2 separate regions of the Homo sapiens genome follow, and region 1 is linked to region 2. Evidence: promoter capture Hi-C in human tissues and cell types (Jung and others, 2019). All regions are on one chromosome and are shown on one strand. The core of a region is centred on a gene start or on the middle of the fragment in contact, and the rest is flanking DNA. Distances in the headings are between cores, read along the strand shown. Region 1 has its middle 160 kb from the start of LRP12. Region 2 holds the start of LRP12 (LDL receptor related protein 12).

What was found. The method cuts DNA at HindIII sites, captures the fragments that hold promoters and counts their contacts. A contact is called where the count stands out against the background at its distance.
Region 1: a fragment that was not itself captured here is called in contact with the fragment with the promoter of LRP12 in region 2 in 1 of the 25 tissues and cell types used here (dorsolateral prefrontal cortex).

The regions. Positions count from the first base shown.
Region 1 is chr8:104,743,828-104,747,236 of GRCh38, reverse strand. No RefSeq gene overlaps it. Among named protein-coding and RNA genes, the nearest start is that of LRP12, 160 kb to the right of the region's middle. The HindIII fragment of the contact is 3,950 bases long and covers 119-3,409 here.
Region 2 is chr8:104,587,313-104,590,686 of GRCh38, reverse strand. LRP12 (LDL receptor related protein 12) reads left to right here and starts at 1,429. Exons shown (of 7, transcript NM_013437.5): 1 at 1,429-1,868. The coding sequence starts at 1,790. RefSeq lists silencers at 1,391-1,730, 2,161-2,270. The HindIII fragment of the contact is 16,882 bases long and covers 1-3,374 here.

The sequences.
Region 1 (3,409 bases), core at 844-3,343, 160 kb before region 2:
ATGTCCAGCCTTATAATACCACACTTTTACTGTACCTTTTTCATGTTTAGCTGTACAAATGTCTAGCATTGTGTTACAATTGCCTATTCAGTACAGTAACATGCTGTACAAGTTTATAGCCTAGGAGTACAGGTCTGGAGCCTAAGTTATACTATATAGCCTAGATATGTAGTAGGTTGCCATCCAGCTTTGTGTAAGTACACTCTATGATGTTCACACAATTATGAAATTGCCTAACAATGCATTTGTCAGAATGTGGCCCCATTGTTAAGTGACACATGACTACAAGACGGTAAGACATTCACTGAGGCTTTGTAGGGGCAGGCAGTGAGAATTGCTTTGGATTGAGTCATTTCCCTTCTCTTTGAGTCACCCTTCCATGGCAGAGGGAAAGGAGGTGATCCTACCTCCCTCTGTTAAGCCAGATGAGGAGTCTTTAGAAGAATCATTTGGGGGGCAAGATTCATATTCCTTGGAGTCTGAAGGATGCGGAGACTTCATTTATACATGGGAAGTCTAGATGGAGAGAATCTGGGGTTGGCCAAAGGGGCCTTTGGCAGTCTAATCTAGAAGGGGGCTATCCCCAAGAAGTCCCTGTAGGGGCCCTTGCAGAGAAAGAGTCAATATGGATATTCACCTTCCACAAGAGGCCCCAGGCCATAAGACTTTCCGTCCTCCCTAATGCTCACAACCAAAAGATGACAGAAGGCCTAATGGAGGTGCCTAATGCACAGGTGGGGATTTAACACTGAACACTTCGAGACTGAGAGGGCTGGGAAATGTCCCGGGCACTAGCTGACAAAGGGAGAAGGCACAGAATATAAGCATCTTAATAAATAATAATGGATCAAAGCCCAGGGATTCTTTCCTGGATCGTGTCAATCCTGAGGTTACAGTGCTTTCCTAAGGGAAGGGAAGAGGCCTAGTCCTCCCCAGCAAGAATGGAAATTGAATTTCTTACCAATCCTGGCTGACCTGTACCAACCCATATATAATCAGATTTTTTTTTTTTTTTTAAAGAAAGAAACATGATGTTTGTTGCACAGAAGTGTTGTAGAGCTATTAATATAGGTCACATATGTATGTATACAGCTCCTCATGTATTGTCCGGCACTTAGTGGAAGCTTAACAGATGCTAGCTCCCTCTTGGGACATTTTTTCTTACTGACCAGAAAATTCTAGGATGGTCAAGTTTGTTGACCTTGAAAATGATGGAAGAAGGCCGTTGCTCAAAATAGTAGCCTCATTGGAAGGATCACTTGAGCCCAGAAGTTCGAGGCTGCAGTGAGCTATGATTGTACGAACCACTGCACTCCAGCCTAGGCGACAGAGTGAGGCTCCATCTCTAAAAATAAAAAAATAGGGAGGAGGAGCCAAGATGGCCGAATAGGAACAGCTCCGGTCTACGGCTCCCAGCGTGAGCGACGCAGAAGACGGGTGATTTCTGCATTTCCATCTGAGGTACCGGGTTCATCTCACTAGGGAGTGCCAGACAGTGGGCGCAGGCCAGTGTGTGTGCGCACCGTGCACGAGCCAAAGCAGGGCGAGGCATTGCCTCACCTGGGAAGCGCAAGGGGTCAGGGAGTTCCCTTTCCGAGTCAAAGAAAGGGGTGACGGACGCACCTGGAAAATCGGGTCACTCCCACCCGAATATTGCGCTTTTCAGACCGGCTTAAGAAACGGCGTACCACGAGACTATATCCCACACCTGGCTCAGAGGGTCCTACGCCCACGGAATCTCGCTGATTGCTAGCACAGCAGTCTGAGATCAAACTGCAAGGCGGCAGCGAGGCTGGGGGAGGGGCGCCCGCCATTGCCCAGGCTTGCTTAGGTAAACAAAGCAGCCGGGAAGCTCGAACTGGGTGGAGCCCACCACAGCTCAAGGAGGCCTGCCTGCCTCTGTAGGCTCCACCTCTGGGGGCAGGGCACAGACAAACAAAAAGACAGCAGTAACCTCTGCAGACTTAAGTGTCCCTGTCTGACAGCTTTGAAGAGAGCAGTGGTTCTCCCAGCACGCAGCTGGAGATCTGAGAACGGGCAGACTGCCTCCTCAAGTGGGTCCCTGACCCCCGAGCAGCCTAACTGGGAGGCACCTCCCAGCAGGGGCACACTGACACCTCACACGGCAGGGTATTCCAACAGACCTGCAGCTGAGGGTCCTGTCTGTTAGAAGGAAAACTAACAACCAGAAAGCACATCTACACCGAAAACCCATCTGTACATCACCATCATCAAAGACCAAAAGTAGATAAAACCACAAAGATGGGGAAAAAACAGAACAGAAAAACTGGAAACTCTAAAATGCAGAGTGCCTCTCCTCCTCCAAAGGAATGCAGTTCCTCACCAGTAACAGAACAAAGCTGGATGGAGAATGATTTTGACGAGCTGAGAGAAGAAGGCTTCAGACGATCAAATTACTCTGAGCTACGGGAGGACATTCAAACCAAAGGCAAAGAAGTTGAAAACTTTGAAAAAAATTTAGAAGAATGTATAACTAGAATAACCAATACAGAGAAGTGCTTAAAGGAGCTGATGGAGCTGAAAACCAAGGCTCGAGAACTACGTGAAGAATGCAGAAGCCTCAGGAGCCGATGCGATCAACTGGAAGAAAGGGTATCAGCATTGGAAGATGAAATGAATGAAATGAAGCGAGAAGGGAAGTTTAGAGAAAAAAGAATAAAAAGAAATGAGCAAAGCCTCCAAGAAATATGGGACTATGTGAAAAGACCAAATCTACGTCTGATTGGTGTACCTGAAAGTGATGTGGAGAATGGAACCAAGTTGGAAAACACTCTGCAGGATATTATCCAGGAGAACTTCCCCAATCTAGCAAGGCAGGCCAACGTTCAGATTCAGGAAATACAGAGAACGCCACAAAGATACTCCTCGAGAAGAGCAACTCCAAGACACATAATTGTCAGATTCACCAAAGTTGAAATGAAGGAAAAAATGTTAAGGGCAGCCAGAGAGAAAGCTCGGGTTACCCTCAAAGGAAAGCCCATCAGACTAACAGCGGATCTCTCAGCAGAAATCCTACAAGCCAGAAGAGAGTGGGGGCCAATATTCAACATTCTTAAAGAAAAGAATTTTCAACCCAGAATTTCATATCCAGCCAAACTAAGCTTCATAAGTGAAGGAGAAATAAAATACTTTATAGACAAGCAAATGCTGAGAGATTTTGTCACCACCAGGCCTGCCCTAAAAGAGCTCCTGAAGGAAGCGCTAAACATGGAAAGGAACAACTGGTACCAGCCGCTGCAAAATCATGCCAAAATGTAAAGACCATCGAGACTAGGAAGAAACTGCATCAACTAATGAGCAAAATCACCAGCTAACATCATAATGACAGGATCAAATTCACACATAACAATATTAACTTTAAATATAAATGGACTAAATTCTGCAATTA
Region 2 (3,374 bases), core at 180-2,679:
ACCAATCAGCGCTCTGTAAAATGCACCAATCAGCACTCTGTAAAACGCACCAATCAGCAGGATTCCAAAAGTAGCCAATCGCAGGGAGGATTGAAAGAGGGGCACTCCGATAGGACAGAAATGGAACATGGGAGGGGACCACAAGGGAATAAAAGCTGGCCACCACCAGCCAGCACCTGGGGTTCTCTTCCATGCTGTGGAAGCTGTCCTTTTGCTCTTCGCAATAAACCTTGCTACCGCTCACTCTTTGAGTCCGTGCCATCTTTAAGAGCTGTTAACAGTCACCGGGAAGGTCTGCAGCTTCATTCTTGAAGTCAGGGAGACCACGAACCCCCTGGCAGGCACCAACTCCGACACATTACTAGGCGCTAAGCATTGTGCTAGAGAGTTTGCTGTGGTATAGGGGCAACAATCTTTACTTTGGAATGAGAAAAACTGTTTCAAACAACTTACTTGCCATGAGTAATTTAATTTCTCTCTTTTCTATAAAACATGGGTAATATTTATCTCACAAGGATGTTTGGGATTAAAAAGTGACAACCTATGTCAATAGGACAGCATGATGCAGTGTAGGTCTTCAATGAATAGCATGGAGAGTGCTTGCAAAGGGCAACGATAAAATCTAATATAAATAAGACGTTGTAGACAAACGCTTTAAAAACACAGGGGGTAAGGTCTGATGTGCCAGCGTCACTACAGACGTACTTAGAAAAGTGTTCTGGGGATCTAAGTAAAGGAGGACTCCCATTTGCTGGGAGTGAGAAAAGAGCTTTAGGGAAACTGCAGCGTGATGGGCGAATCCTCCTTTCAATATATCTACCCTGAAAGTCGGCTCCAGCCCTGCCGAACATCCTGGCCCAGCTGCACCCGACCCAGCGTGAGATGTCAAATGACCTCTTGGCGCTTCCACGCCAGACTGGAGGGGCTCTGCACAAGCCTTGCCCGACTCATTCCGGGCACCTTGAGCGTGGGAGTCCACACTGCCCCTTGACCGACCAGCTGCCAGGTTGGCCGCACTAACTTGAGCCCACCCCCACTCGAAGCTCCGCGCCGACAGCAAGTGGAGACTTGGGGGTACCGGATAGAGGAAGGAACTCCCAAGTTGTCAGCTTCAGACCATCCACGCCTCCCCCAACACGGAACCACCTTCAGCCTCCCAGCTGGTATCCCACCCCCCCTCCCCCCACCCGCTGGGCCAGAGCCCAGCCCTCGGACAGCGACCGTGCTCCTCCACACACCCCGCGCTCCAGCCCCTGGGCATCCAGCAGCCGGCGTTCGCACGCTCTGTCATCGATTGGCGCTGCCTTGCTCCTTGGGCTCCCGTCGCGTGGAAATCGGCCCGAAACTTGGAAAGTCCAGCGGAGCGCGGGGAGGGAACCGAGGCAGGCGGGCCAGGGGATTGCCGATCGCACGGATGGGCGCGCGCTCAGTCTGGCGAGTGGCGGCGCCGGCTAGCCCGAGCGGCGCGAGGCCGGAGTCCGGCGTCCGCCACCCTCTCGTCTCGCGCTGGCGCGCGAGCTCCTTGCCCTTGCCCCCAGGAGGGCCGCCCCGCGTGGGGCTCTCGCACCGCCCGGGGTGGGAGCAGGCGAGCCGGAGGGAGGAGGGAGGAGGGAGCGCGCGCGGGCGGCGGCGGCCCCTCCCTTCCCCCTCCCGCAGCCGCGGAGAGCGCAGGGAGCAGCCGGTGGCTCGGCGGCGGCGGCGGCGGCGGCGGCGGCGTCGGCGTCGTCTACCTCCAGCTTCTCCTCCCTCCTCCTCCGTCTCCTCCTCTCTCTCTCCATCTGCTGTGGTTATGGCCTGTCGCTGGAGCACAAAAGAGTCTCCGCGGTGGAGGTCTGCGTTGCTCTTGCTTTTCCTCGCTGGGGTGTACGGTAAGTGTCCGCGTCCCCGCGCCCCGCTGACCGAACAAAGCTGAGGCGACCCGGGCCCCGAGGCCTCCAGGACGGGGGTTCCCCTGGAGACTCCCGCGGAGACCCTGGCTACCGGCGGGACAAAGACCGGTGAGGGGGTGGATGTGGCGGAACGGGTGTCCCCACACGGAGATGCTTTTCTCCACTCGTCCACCTCCAGACCCTCGGGTGGTGGAGAGGGGCTGGGGGGCCCGGCCGGGAGGGCCCCGGCGGAGCGAGGGGGTGGCGGGCGGACTTCCCGACCTGGGTTCGAGGGCCCCCGCGGCCAGTTGCTCCAGGACCCGTAGCCTGGCACAATCCACACACAAAGATGCTTGACTGTGAGAAAGCAGAGGAGCTCGCCCCCGCCGCTGCCGGGACGGTCCTTCCCCCCGCCCCCTCAACCCGGGGTTAGGAAGTTCTCTCACCGGCGAGATTCCCACCGCGCCAGCCCTTGTCCTACTCGATTCCCTGAAAAGGCTTCCCGCTGACTTCTCCCCACTCCACCTCGGGGGCAAGGGCTCTGCCGAATCCGGGCGTGCAGGGTCCTGTTGGTTCCCCGGGAGCAGCACGCGGGAGAAGGCCAGAAAATAGTTTCCAGCCCCACCTCAGTCTCTCCTGTTAGGGTGTACACATCTGTCCTGACTCCTAGTTCAATTGTAATTTCATCCATCCTCGTCCGCCGCTGTGGTCACTGTTACTTTATTCCAGTCGATGGATCGGGTTAGAGATAACTCCTTTCGGGTTAAGAGAAGGCTGAAGACTGTGCGGACAGCTTTATATTGCGTTGGGGTCTGAGCAAGAGCTGAATGGAATTAATTGCAAAGAACATCTATCTCTTAAGATAATTAAGTTACACTTCTGACTTCACCGTTCTTAGTTCATCAGTTAAACACACTGAATAGGTATTTCAGAGAGCTCAGTTTTAACCTTTCCTTTTTGGAGTGTTGCTCTGATTTCTCCAGAAAAAGAATTAGAAGATATCATTACTTTGGTAAATTTTACTTATAAAAAGTCTAATTCATTTGCCACAAACATTGATTTGACTAGTATAATGGTGGTGGTGGTGAGGTTTAGTCAACAGCCAATTTGTCAGCAAGTGTTATCTCTTTTGAAGGCATTTATCTACGGAATTGAATGTGATGGTGGCTTTTGAAACCTGGCAAGTGACGCTAAATGAAGAATTAATGAACGTAATTGGGCATTTACTGACAGCCAAGAAATTCTTTTTGGTACAATTAAGGATGTGTTGCTCCCGTACCTGATTAGTAGTATTTTTGTTTGTTTTGGTGAGGAGAGTAGTTTGGTCCATTTTTTATGTAGGGGTAATTGCCAGAGGTGTGCTTGTGTGGGACCAAAAACCCAGTACACGACTTTTGATTGTTAGCTGCATCAAGTGGCTGTAATCCCTGCTTGCCTGATGACTTGTGGGTTTGGGTCTACACCAGAGATCAATAAGCTATTACGTTGTTTCTTCTGCCCTGAAGG